2 separate regions of the Homo sapiens genome follow, and region 1 is linked to region 2. The links are contacts of gene promoters, found by promoter capture Hi-C in blood cells and fetal thymus (Javierre and others, 2016). All regions are on one chromosome and are shown on one strand. The core of a region is centred on a gene start or on the middle of the fragment in contact, and the rest is flanking DNA. Distances in the headings are between cores, read along the strand shown. Region 1 overlaps LINC00589 (long intergenic non-protein coding RNA 589). Region 2 holds the start of LEPROTL1 (leptin receptor overlapping transcript like 1).

Region 1 (6,817 bases), core at 3,793-6,292, 380 kb after region 2:
AGATGATACGGAGCTGAGCTGGAAAGTGAGCCTGGATCTCTCTGGTTCTGAAAGCTTTGCTCGAAAGCACAGGATGACACCTCCATTCAATCAATAAGCACTGAGACCCTTCCATGGACTCAGCAGGTCCTGCTGTCCCTGAAGGTTGACACTCTCATTTCAAACCACAGCGAGAACCCCAAAAGGAAACAGTGCAAGGAAAATAATGTGATATTTGAGAGGCAGCATGGATTATTGGGGACAGGGTTCATGTCCCTTCTCTCCCACACACGTGGCATGATGTTAAGCGGGTCACCTCACCTCTCCAGGGTTGTTTCCTCAACTGAGAAAATGAGGGGGTTGAGATGAACGCCAGCCCTGGGGTGCTCAATGCTGCAGTCTAGGGTGGTGTGGACTGGAATCAGAATTCTTTCTCCTCCGCTCTGGGTGCTGACACATGATCTCTGGCTCTCACTCCCCACCCCTAATCTTGCCCATCTGAGTTTCAGGTTATTTTTTCCTTCCTCCTGCTCTTCAATTTCCTTATTGAGGAAGCTCTTTCCTGCTGCCTCTGTCCCCGCTGGAGCTGTTTGATCCAGTAGAGCCAGTCGAAGCCAAGGGGACCCTGACTTGAATCTTGCTTTCTGACATGCTGGCTGTGGCTTGCTTGGGACCTGAATAAGAGCTTGCTTACTCCCGGTGTTCACCACAGCGGAACCATGGGTGCAGAAATGTAATTCTCAACCAGCCCAGTTTAATCAGCGAAAGACAATAGAGCTTGCAGGCGGTGTCATGCTGAGTATCTGAACACACCATGGCTGCTGTCGCCCTTTTCATTAAAATGATTGAAAATGTATTTCTAAACAGAAGTGAGGGTCCCTGTCTAAATCAAGCCGCTGTATTGGGCTTATTGTCCCGATCTGAAGTGCTTCAGCTTCTAGTGCTTCTCAATAGAAGTTCATTATTACAACGATAATAACAACTGTATAGATACACAGAAAAGAAGTTCCCATTTCATAAGGAAAAAAGAAACTCATTCAAACCAAGAGAGAATGAAAATTGCTCTTGTTCAGCAGCTCTACAATTCCTGCTTTCCCTTTCTGCTGGAAAGGAAGTTGAATTTAAAAGCTTATCTTGGTTCGATTTTCTTTTTCCCTAAACCAAAATAGAATAGCTATTTAGCTTGAAAATTTGTAAGAGCTCAAGTCAATTGGTTAACCAAACACACACACACACACACACACACACTTACATGCGCATCTTAATATCCTCATTATATAAAATCTCAATCACCAAAAATGACCCCCAAAATTATAAGACTCCAATATATGATTGAGCAAAGGACATAAACAGATGGTTCATAAGGAGGAAAGACACATGATAAAAAATATGAAAAAATTTTCAACACACAGATAATAAAAGAAATTCAGATGATAACGAGATATTGTAGGTGCTAATCAAAGTATCAAAGATTTTAAAAATTATAGCAAAAGAGTTCCTTGCTTTTGTGTAATGAGTTCCCAGATAATATGTGAAATTCACTCATCCTCTTCCAAATCAACATTACTGTCTGTGAAATGAACAATACAACCAAGCACACAGATCCTAGCCTCTGCTGGGAAAATCCCGTGTAAATCCACCATCCTTTTTGTTTCTTAAGTTCCTCCTTGGTAAAAAGTTGTTTGGCTCATGCCTGTAATCCCAGCACTTTGGGAGGCCGAGGCAGGCAGATCACCTGAAGTCAGGAGCTCGAGACCAGCCTGGCCAACAGGGTGAAACCCCATCTTTACTAAAAATACAAAAATTAGCTGGGCGTGGTGGCGAATGCTTGTGATCCCAGCTACTTGGGAGGCTGAAGCAGGAGAATCACTTGAACCCGGGAGGCAGAGGTTGCAGTGAGCCGAGATCGCGCCACTGCACTCCAGCCTGGGCAGAAGAGTGACACTCCATCTCAAAAAAAAAAAAAAAATGTTGTTTGTGTTCAGATTCTGAAATTTCACAATTCTCCCCAGGTACTGTTTTTCTTTGCCCCAAAGCCTTTAAGTCTTCGTTGATGGATATGTAGACACCTAATAAGTATTTGACCTGAAAGTGTCTTTCAAAGCATAGAATTCAGATGGTGATTTTACAAATGAAGAGAGTGAGGCTCACACATTCTGAAGGGGGGAGTCAGGCTTTTTACCATAAAAGTTTTTCCTTGGGGTAATGGTCAATATCCACCAAAATCCAGGTGGCACATGCTTGATACCCTTCTGAAAAGACTTAGTCTACTTCACTACTGGTTTTAGCAGGGTAGAGCCAGGGTCTCAGAACACAATGAGCTGCTCAGGTGAAAGAAGATCACACTAGGATTTCTGCTTTCTAATGCACCATCCTTTTTAAATTTTCATTTTTCTTACTGTTATAATGTATAGGTTAGTAGAGCACTTTACTTCTTGGGGATACATAATTAAAGTTGTTTTGCTGGTAGGATAGTGTTATCAAAAATTTGCAGGCAGCTGGAATAGTGAGATGTGAATGTGTCTGATCTCGTGCAATTCAGGAAGCAGGGCCTTCAGAGTGAAGGGAGGAAGGAAAGCTGGCTGTGGTCAGAGGAGATGACCAGCAGAGCTCCTAATAGAGGGCAAGAGTCACCTCCTCACCCCACAGGCTGCATTGAGACTAAGGCAACTGGAAAGTTCAACTGAATCACAAGGGCGTGCTGACATGCTGGGGAAAAGCCAAAATTTTTAAAGGTCATCTTGCCAGAAAAGTGGCTGCTGCTTAGGTCCTGTCCTGGCACCCTGGGCCCAGGATCCCAGGACTCAGCTCATGGGGAGCAGAGGGCTGTGGCATGCCAAGTCAAAGGTCTCATGGAGATGGTTCCAATTGGGAATCAATGGCAGAGATGCCAAGACAAGCTAAGGGGCATGGCAATCTGAGGATCCAAGCCACCTAGCACAGACACAGGGACAGGCAAGGGAACTAGAGACCTTAGCAGCTTGTCAGAGGGGAAGCGGAAGGCAGCAGGGGCCCAGAAGCAAACTCCCTATGTCAGATAGAGGTGTGTGCAGTGAAAATGAAGGGGGAACCAGAACCCCTTGCAGGAAATGTCCAGTGGAACTCCATGAAGTCCCTCGAGTCGTCTTTGAACCGCTGAGCCAGGTATTAGAGGACCCACAGCACACTTCTGAGCCTCGTTTCTGTCTCTCTTACCTACCACAAACTCTGGACAATCAGCTCGCACATTTGTTCCTTTATTCCCAAGGAGAACATGAGGAAAGGACGTAGATATCACCCAAATGTATAATTTACCAGGTAAGAAAAGCCCAATGGCTTTCTAATTATTTCTGGATGTCCCAGCAGCCTCTGTCAGGAGTGCAGGTGTAAGTAGCCTCATGTGCCTTTGCTCCGGCCTCCTTGTGGGAGTCCAGTACCCCAACCCCATCTTGGGAGATGCCGCTGGTCCAACCTCAGGATCTCCTAATGGAGTCAAGAGGTAAGGCTGATTTGAATTCACCCTTCTTCTCCTTAAAGCTAGTGCAACTCACAGAAAATTGAGAGCCAAATGGGAAACAAACTGTCAGTTTTCCTAACGGGTAGGCAGGTGTGTCTTAACCCCCAAGGCTTTCTGGGGGAGCCAGAGAGGAGAAAGTGACTTAGACCTGAGGACAAAGGAGATCCACCTGCTTCTCTAATTGTAGACCTTAAGCCTGCCTGTCACATGGACTGTAGCGTACTGAGCACAGGGGTGGTGCCGGGCAGGTACAGCTCCCAGCACTCTGCTGTGGACATCCTAACTCGCTAGAAGTTGACTCAGTCACAAACTATCTAAGTTTATAGCTGAAGCTCTAGCACCTGTTCTAGAACAGGAGAATCTGAAGGAGGAGATGAACTGAATTTAGCACTGATTTTCTTTAAAAATATTTATAGAAACTATAACATTTCTGAGTTATCTAGAAATGTTATTTTTGTTTAGTTTGGCTTTCTTTTTTTTTGCTTTCATCTGAAAATTAAACATTTTGAGGTAATTGTAGATTCACATGCACTTGTAAGAAATAATACAGGGAGATCCCTCTATCTTTCACCCAGTTCCTCCAACTTGGTAGTATCTTGCCAAACCATTGTACTATTTCATACCAGGACATTGACATTGATACCATCAAAATACAGACAATTTCCTTGGCTACAAGAGTCCTCCACATCCACTTCCCTCCTGCACCCACCCCTTCCTTAATCCTTGGCAACCACTGTTCTCCATATCTATAATTTTGTCTTTGCAGGAATGTTATATAAATGGGATTATACAGTATGTAATCTTTTGGGATTGCACTGTTTTTTTATTTGCAGCATAATCCTCTGAAAGTTGTTGCATGTATCAATAGCTTTTTAATCTTTATTGCTGAATGGTATTCCAGGGTATGGCGTACTACAGTTTGTTTAACCATCCACCTGTTGAAGGATATCTGGGCCGCTTCCAGTTTGGGCAATTGCAAGATGCTACAGACATTGATATACAGGTATTTTTGAGAACATAAGATTTTACTTTATTTCTCTGAGATAAATGCCCAGAAGAGCATTTGCTGGGTCTTATGATAAACGCATATTGAATTTTTTTGCTTTTGAGATGGAGTCTCATTCTGTCACCCAGGCTGGAGTGCAGTGGTGTGATCTTGGCTCACTGGAATCTTCGCCTCCAGGGTTCAAGTGATTCTCCTGCCTCAGTCTCCTGAGTAGTTGGGATTACAGGCACGTGCCACCATGCCCGGCTAATTTCTTATATTTTTAGTAGAGACGGGTTTTCACCATGTTGCCCAGGCTGGTCTCAAAATCCTGAACTCAGGTGATCTGCCTGCTTCGGTCTCCCAGCTTTGGGATTACAGGCATGAGCCACCATGCCCGGCCAGTTTGGTTTTTTTAAAGGTTGAGTTTTGAGAGTTCTTTATGTATATTCTAGATGCTAGTTCTTTGTCAAATACGTGATTTGAAAATATTTTCTCTCAGTCTATAGCTTGTCTTTTCATCCTCTTCACAGTGTCTTTCACAGAGCAAAAATTTTTAATTGTGATTTATCAAGATTTTCTTTTAAGGATCACACTTTTGGTGTCAACTCTATGAATATTTTGTCTAGCCCTAGATCCCCAGGATTTTTTACTATGTTTTCTTGTAAATGTTTTAGTTTTATATTTTACATTTAAGTCTCTTTACATTTTGAGTTAATTTTTAAAAAATTAGGTGTAAGAATTAGGTTGAGCTGAGTTTTTGTTTGTTTGTTTGTTTTGTTTTGTTTTGTTTTGTTTTTTGCCTGTGAATGTCCAATTTCTCCAGCACAATTTGCTGGAAAGGCTATTTTTCTTCCATTGAATTGCTTTTGTAACTTCATTGAAAATCACTTGGGCATACTTGTGTGGGTCTATTTTTGGGTTCGTTCCTCTGTTCTATTGATCGTTGTGTGTATTCTTCCACCAGCATCAAACAGTCCCAATTACTGTAGCTATATAATAAGTCGAAAATCAGGTAGACCGATTCCTCTCATTTTGTTCTTCCCTTTCAAAATGGTTTCAGCTATTCTAGTTCATTGCCTGTCCATATAAATTTTAGAGTAGTCTTGTCTATATCTACAAAGAAATCTTGCTAGGATTTTAATAGGAATTTCATTAAAGCTGTGTATCAATTTGGCAATGAATTAACCCTTTGCTGTGCTGAGTCTTATGACATGGTTTGTCTCTCCATTTACTTAGATCTTTGATTTCTTGCAATATTTTGTGTTTTCAGCATGCAAGTCCTGCTTATATATTAGATTTGCATCTGTATTAGTTTGTGATGGCTTCTGTAACAAAATACTACAAACCGAATAGCTTAAACAACAGAAATTTACTTTCTCACAGTTCCAGATGCTAGAAATCTGAAATCAAGATATCAGCAGAGTTGGTTCCTTCCTAGAGCTGTGAGGGAGGATCTGTTCCAGGGCCCTCTCCTTGGCTTGTAGATGGCTGTCTTCTCCCCGTGTCTCCTCACATCACCTTCCCTCTGTGCTCGTCTGTCTCCATGTCCAAATTTCTCCGTTTTATAATGGTGTTGTCAGATTGGATTAGAGCCTACCCTAATAACCACATTTTAACTTTACCCCGGTAAAGAGTCTATCTCTAAATAAGACCATATTTTGAGGTATGAGGTTTAAGATTCCAGCATATCTTTTTGGGATGAGAGGGGCAAAGCATAATTCAACCTGTAGCAATACCTAAGTGATTTGTTTATTTATTATAGTACAATTTTGAGTGGTATTGAATTTTCAATCATGGCGTCCGTATATTGAATATGAAAGATACTCAACAATATTAGTCATCAGGGAAATGCAAATTAAAATCATGATATGATATAATTTAACACCTCATATGTTAGCTAACGTTTTTTAAAATGATAATAGCAATTATTGGTGAGAATGTGGAGCAACTGGATTGCTCACATATTGCTGAAAAGAATTTAAAATCTTACAACCACTTTGAAACAGATTGGAAACTTCTTATACATTTTAACACATACACTTACTACACGACCCAGCAATTCCGTTCTTAGATATTTACCTAAGAGTAGTAAAGACATGTGTTCACATCCAAAGACCTTTAAACATATGTTCACAGCAACTTTATTAATAATAGCCAAGGACTGGAAACAACTCAAATATCCATCTTCTAATGAATGGATTAACAAACTGTGGTCTGTCCATATAATGGAATCCTATTCAACAGTAAAGCGTGGTGAACTACTGATACATGAAACAAATGGATGGAAATCAAAATTATTATGGTAAGTGAAAGAAGCCAGACACAACTGCCTGTATGACTATGATTCAATTTAT
Region 2 (7,169 bases), core at 4,666-7,165:
GTTCCCTTTCTAAAGAGTCAAAGTCCACAGGCTCAATGCTCTTCTGGGCATTAGAATTATATTTACTTCACAGATCACTACAGTTTTGAAAAGCAGTATGTGGAGAAACTCCACATGCTCAAGTTTACTGGACTTTAGAAACCTCATCCTATAGGAAAACCTCTTCTAATCAGCTCCTGTTTCTGGCACATACACTCTCAATGTGCATAAAACTGACCAGAAAAAATGCCCGAGAATATCTGTAGTTAATGATTTTAATCAATTAATTTTGTTGCAAATCTTTAAATAGTTTGCAAAAGTAGAGCTGGGTTTCCTTCCCTAATCTACATTAGAAAATCTGTAGGACAATGGGTTATAATCCTTCTGAGGTATCACTACTTTAACATGTTATTATAAGCAATAGATGCATTCTACAGGTGAAATATAGTTTCTAAAGCTACGCGCGCACACACAGACACACACACACACACACAGCAGTACATTTTAAGGTGCTCTCACGTTAGTGAATAGAAACAACTTTCTTGAATAGGCATAGTTAACCAATGACCTAGACTAAAGCAAAGAAATAAATGATAGCCGAGTGCAGTGGCTCACGCCTGTAATCCCAGCACTTTGGGAGGCCAAGGCGGGCGGATCATGAGGTTGGGGGTTTGAGACCAGCCTGGTCAGTATGGTGAAACCTTGTCTCTACTAAGAATACAAAAAATTAGCTGGGTGTGGTGGCACATGCCTGTAGTCCCAGCTACTTGGGAGGCTGAGGCAGGAGAATTGCTTGAACCCGGGAGGCGTAGGTTGCAGTGAGCCTAGACTGCGCCTTTGCATTCCAGCCTGTGCGACAGAGCAAGACTCCATCTCAAAAAAAATAAATAAATAAGTAAATGATAAATTTATTTTGAGTTCTATATAACCTGTATTTCTACAGTTACAGTGGCTAAGAAAATAACTAGTTTTGTTGTTGTTAGGTCATTTTATTAAAATTCAAAAGTTAAAATTCGAAAGATTTGTAGAAGGTCTAAAAGTTACCAAAACAAAGGCTAACATAGAGAAACCAAAATGAACAGGAAACAAGTTAAACTTTGCCAAGTACTACTGATATACTCTGCACAACTAAAACAGTCATAATCAAGGACACCCCATGACATAGTGGCTTGGCAGATTTGGTTTTTGGTTAGATCGCTGATGCAGGTCATGGCAACCCCGAACACATCACTTAGTCCTGAATACCATTCTATTTCCAGCTACAGGAAAAGAATTGCATTTTTACTTTACAGCAAACGAGGCACTTCAAGTTTACAGGGGAATGCAATATAAACTGTAAGGAAAACACTGAATTTACCATTTGTTTTCTTCAGTTCCAAATTGGTTCTCATGACCGGGCCCTGCCCACCTCTCCTGTGACGTGTCACACCAGGCTACTACAGTGTCCCTGAACCCTCACTTCAGTTATACTGGCCCTCTTTCCTTTCCTGGAAATCAGCAGACTTGCTCACTCACGTGGCCTGTGCACACTTTGTCCCTTCTGCCTCAGACATTTTTTCATTCAAGAAATATTCACTGAGCACTAAATATGTGACAAGCACTAGGGATACAACAGTGAATGAGGCATGGTCCTTTCCCACTCCTCTCTACTTTCCTCCAACTTAACTCCTGCTTTTCCTTCAGATCTCAGCTCAACCAGTGAAGTGTTTTTTTGCTGGTTTTTTTTTTTTTTTTTTTTTTTTTTAAATGGAGTCTTGCGCTGTCGCCAGGATGGAGTGCAGTGGCGCGATCTTGACTCACTGCAACCTCCGCCTCCCAGGTTCAAGCCATCCTCCTGCCTCAGCCTTTCTGAGTAGCTGGGACTACAGCTGTGCACCACCATGCCTAGCTAATTTTTTTTTTTTTTGTATTTTTAGTAGAGACGGGGTTTCACCACATTGGCCAGGATGGTCTCCATCTCTTGACCTCACGATCTGCCCACCTTGGCCTCCCAAAGTGCTGGGATTATAGGCGTGAGCCACTGCACCTGGCCTCAGTGAAGTTTTTCCAAACCTCCTGATTAGACCAATTCCCTGTTATATTTATTTATTCATTCCTCTAACAAACATCTATGGAGCACCTAACGTGTGTCAGATACTGTTCTTGCTACTGGAGACAGAGCAATGACAACAATCAAAGCTTTTGCTCTCACGTTCTAGTGGGAGAAGAAAATGATTTTTAATAAGCAAGTGAATAAATGTCAAGTGATGACAAACGTCAGGTAGAGTAAGGGATGGGAGTGCTAGTCTAGATACAGTGGCCAGGGAAGGCATCTCTGATGAAGCACCACCTGAGCAAAGATCTGTATGAGGGGAGGGAGGAAATCATGTGGGTATTTGGGATGAGTATTCCTGGCAGAGACCCGTGTATGCTGAGGTCCTCTGTTCACTGAATGCCTCTCCTTTGCTCAATTATCAGCTGCGATTTCCTACTGGTTTGTATTTTGTCTTTCCTTCTCAACTGTCCATTTCACGAAAGGAGGGAGCAAGTTTTTCTGTTGTGATGATCGTGCCTGGCTCTTAACACTCAACAAATATTTGTGGAATGAATGTAGCAGAGTGGAAGCAGCATGGAACTGAGACTCTGGAGGGTCCAAGGCCCTAATAGTTACTAACTAGTTGTCCAAGTAATTTATGAGTCTCAGTTCTTCCTTCTCTAAAATGACAGTTGGACTAGATCTTAAATGCAGATAATTTTCTGAACACTAAAGGTACTGTTAAGACAGCTAAGTCCATTACTATAAATACTACCTAGTAACACCTCATTCATTCAGAAGCCATTTATACGCAACTTAGAATCCTGGAGAAAACAAAGGCCACTAAAAAGAGACAAAATAGATGTTACAAAGCCCATATACTAAAGCCAACATTCTCTATAAACAGACCCTTAAGTTCTTATTTATACTAACTCATTTTCGTGACACAATTGTTAGATGGGAATTCAGAGTAAAACACATTTTTATTTTAAAGAATCATCTATGCTCACTTATATATATTTTTCAATAGGTAATTCATATACCCAGAACAAAAATTAAGTGAAAAGGAACTTTCTCTTATCAAAAGTAATCACTATTACCTATATACCTTGTGACACAAAATTTTCTAAGTTTATCTTCCCACACTGAAACAAATGGGAATTAGGAGAAAGAGTTGCATACAAGCAAGAATTGCCCTTTGACAGGAGGGAGGAAACAACAAAAAAAATTTAAACCAGGCAGAAAAATCTCAAAAAGCATGTTCACGGTAATCTCCGCAAGAGGCAAGCCACCTTAGGACCATGAGGGCCTCTGAAGGTGGCTGTTCTGTGACAGAGAACAGTCATTCAAGTTTTTATCAAAAAAGAAGGCCTAAATTCTTTGATTACACTCTTACAAAGTTAATGAAAAATGATTCCTTAAAAAAAAAAAAAAACCAAGGGACTAAAATGAGATAAGGCTCAGGTATCAAAAAACAATTTTAAAAACATAAACCAAGATTGTCTTATTGTAAGTGCTATGAATATGAATACTGGAATAACATTTGTTTGGGGGAATCAAGATACCTTGAGATAATACTTCTACTCCATTAAATACTAAATATGTGTGTGTGTGTGTGTGTGTGTGTGTGTATATATATATATATTTTTTTTTTTTTTGAGACAGAGTCTCACTCTGTTGCCCAGGCTGGAGTGCAGTGGCGTAATCTTGGCTCACTGCAACCTCTGCCTCCCGGGTTCAAGCAATTCCCTGCCTCAGCCTCCTGAGTAGCTGGGATTACAGGTGCCTGCCACCATGCCCAGCTAATTTTTTTGTATTTTTAGTAGAGATGGGGTTTCACCATCTTGGACAGGTTGGTCTTGAACTCCTGACCTCATGATCCATCCGTCTCGGCCTCCCAAAGTGCTGGGATTACAGGTGTGAGCCACCGCGCCAGGATTAAATACTAAATTTTTTTTAAATATTCATAACACAGTTTGATGTGACATCTCATCTTCCAGTCATACCGAATAAGGTAGCCAATTAGAGGTTAAATAAATTGCTTAAAAGTGTTCTCAAAACTTGCAGTTTCTTCAATCTTATGAAATTGGCAACTAGGAAGATTTATATATACACTTCATCATTTGTATATAAGCTGTTTCTTAAATGACACATCAACAAGGCAAGAATTCATACAGTAATTGAGTGATGCAACATTTGGAAGACAAAGCTTAGATAAGTCTGGGTTCTACTCCCAAAGCCTCTAGGCTAGGCATGGAGCAGCCCAATTATCTAGCAAAACTCTCTAGAGACAAGATGCTGATTCTGTGATTACAAAGAAATTAGAGTAGAAGGAGGGACCACTTCTCTAACCTGGGAGTTACCAGAAAATCCAATATATCAAAAAGTAATAGACAAATGGCTCAAGCAATGCCTAATGGTCTCTAATTACAGCAACACTCCTTCCTAATATAAAGATATTAGGCCAAGAGAAAGAAACATACTGACTCATAACAACCAGAAAATCCTGCTGAAATCAAAAGTGCAGTTCACCTGAGGCACCTTCATCAGTTTAATGCAGTATTTCCCTAGGTCTGGAGAAGTAAATTACAAAGCTATTTTCTTAAGAGACCCCCGCATTATTGACACTGAAGAAACAGGGAAGAACAGGGAAACGGGCAACATCCTAAAAACCACAGCAATTCACAATAACTGCCTTTCACATAAGGGTTTAGAGTCTATCATAGTTCAAAAGGAGATTACAAAGTATCCCAGTTGCTTAAATGACAAGGTTTTATATGGGAAATGAAATGTTTTCAGACATTGAAAATAAACAAGAAACAGTAAGACTGTGACCCTGAAAAAAAACTCGATTAAGTTTTCCTTAGAGAAGAAAAAATACAAAGAAAACCACTGCTCCCAAAGTTACCTGCTTCCTGCCTGACTGCCCTTCTACAGAGCGGCAGGTCAAGAAATCAATGTAATTAGTTAAGCAGTAGCTGAAAACTTTGCTTCTCATCACACTGACAACAAAACTACCTAACAGGTGGAACAAATGCAACATTCCTTTTTTTAAAAGAAAATACATGAATAAGCCAGTAGTTTTTCATTAAGTTGTACCAGTATTTTATCTTCTTAAAAAAAAAAAAGGAAAAAAAGAAAAATTTTGAAATTTGAAAAAGCCTCAGGGTGCAACTGCGGAGAGGGAAGAGAGCCAGGAGCACTTTGGGGTCGCCTACAGGATCAACTCTAGGGTCCAGACACCGCAGATGAAAATGCACCCGTTTCGGGAGCCTGTAAAGCCTCGGGCGCGGGCGGCCGGGGTGGACGTGGGGTCGAGGTTTCGGGCAGACCCGTGCAGCGCCCGCAGACCGCACTTGTGCCTTTCGGTGGGAAATGACTGGTTTTCCATAGCTGGCATCTCTAGCAGCCTCAGCCTTCTCAATCCCACGCTCTGCCTGCCTCTCTCTCGGATGCAAACTCCTGCAAAACGTGTGTGGCCGTCCAAGTCGCGACGGGACTCCTCACTGACCGCCAACCACTTCATATTTTGTCCGGGGGGCGATGGGTGGGAGAGAGGCTGCCGAAATCGGCAGAAAGTGGGGGCTGCGGGGCGAAGCCGGGGTCGCAACCGTCCGTTGCCCGAGGGCGCCGCGCCCACCTCCGGGCCAAGCGCAGGGCCGGGGCGGGGGTCGCTTCCCCGGCGCAGGGACCCCACGCGCGCGCGCGAGCCCGGAGGGGAAGTGCGGGGGCCGCGTGGGACCCCCGGCCCATCTTCCCCCGCCGGCCCCAGCCCTCCCGCGTCCTGCAACCCAGGCCCACCTTTGATGCCTGCCATGGCGGTGACGTCGCTCCTGGCTCCACGACCCGAGGCGGCGGCGGCAGCAGCGGCAGCCGGGAGACCCAAGACGCGCTACGGCGGCCAGACAACACCCGGAAGTGCGCGACGCAGCACTTCCGCCGGCGACTCGGGCTCGCGCGGGGGCGCGGGGGACGCGCCGGGCTGGGCTGTGGGGTCGACCCCCTGCCTCTCTTCTCCGCGGGTGTGCAGATCGCCGCCGGCCGAGGCTTGCCGCCGCCGCCCCGACTGGGGGAATGAGCAGGCGCCAGGTCTTGAATTCCTGTCAGGGCCGGTCTGGGGGCTCCCTGCTGAAGCCCCTGTCCCTGATCCCGCAACCTCCCGCGTGCGTTGGGAAGGGGTCGCGGGTAGCGGCCGTCCTTTGGATGCACGTGTGATGGCTTTTGGCTTAATTTCACATTGTTTTGTTTGTTTTTTGAGACAGGGTCTCTTTCGCCCAGGCTGGAGTGTGATCACGGCTACTGCAGCCTCGATCTCCAGGGCTCAAGTGATTCTCTCACGTCGGCCTCGCAGTAACTGGGACCACAGACATGAGCCACCATGCCTGGCTTTTTTTTGTTTTGTTTTGTTTTGTTTTTTGTAGAGACAGGGCGGGGTGTGAGACTCTCATCTTGTTGCCCAAGCTGGTCTCCTGAGCTCAAGGATCTGCCCTCCTCGGCCTCCCAAAGCGCTGGGATTACAGCTTGATACCCTACCTTGTTTTAACCTGATTGACTCGCTCTTAGCTGAGAGAGCGGGACAGACTCCATTTTGGTTTCTTCGCTTGCAGCACCTTGTCCCCCTCCCTTAAGGACATAACTGGTGCAGACTGACACCAAGCACATCCAGGAATGTGCTTACTGATAAGATACTGAGGCAAGCTGTACCAGCAGCTCCTGGGAACGCGCTCGGTTGATGGTACCCAAAGCCCCTGCGTTTATCTCTTTGTGATAATTTAAGCCCCATGCACCTGGAACTGTTTATTTTCCTGTAACTGTTTCTATAACCATTTATCTTTTAACTCTTTGCCTGTTCTGCTTCTGTAAAAATTGCTTCAGCTAGACTACCCCTTCCCTATTTAGACCAAGGTATAAAAAGAAATCTAGCCCCTTCTTCAGGGCCGAGAGAATTTTGAGCTGTAGTCGTCTCTCGGTCGCCGGCAATAAAGGACTCCTGAATTAGTCTCAAAGTGTGGTGTTTCTCTATAACTCGCTCGGTTACGACAACAGGTGTGAGCCACTGCGCACATTATTTTACTGCGCCTTTTCCTCTCTCCCTCCATCCCTCCATCCCCAGTCCTATAATTAAGGTTAGTTGGGTGGTCTGCACTTGGCTCCTTGGTTTCCTATACAGGACTAG

Evidence for each region. Contacts are between HindIII fragments. The CHiCAGO score rates a contact against its expected background, and 5 or more counts as called.
Region 1: a fragment that was not itself captured here is called in contact with the fragment with the promoter of LEPROTL1 in region 2 in 1 of 17 cell types (neutrophils); the score reaches 5.6 in neutrophils.

The regions. Positions count from the first base shown.
Region 1 is chr8:29,715,285-29,722,101 of GRCh38, reverse strand. LINC00589 (long intergenic non-protein coding RNA 589) reads left to right here. Exons shown (of 4, transcript NR_026765.2): 4 at 1-843. Among named protein-coding and RNA genes, the nearest start is that of LINC00589, 29 kb to the left of the region's middle. The HindIII fragment of the contact is 7,866 bases long and covers 1,110-6,817 here.
Region 2 is chr8:30,094,154-30,101,322 of GRCh38, reverse strand. It overlaps LEPROTL1 (leptin receptor overlapping transcript like 1), which reads right to left and starts at 5,915. Exons shown (of 4, transcript NM_015344.3): 1 at 5,795-5,915. The coding sequence starts at 5,810. RefSeq lists a silencer at 5,608-6,067. The HindIII fragment of the contact is 3,733 bases long and covers 4,205-7,169 here.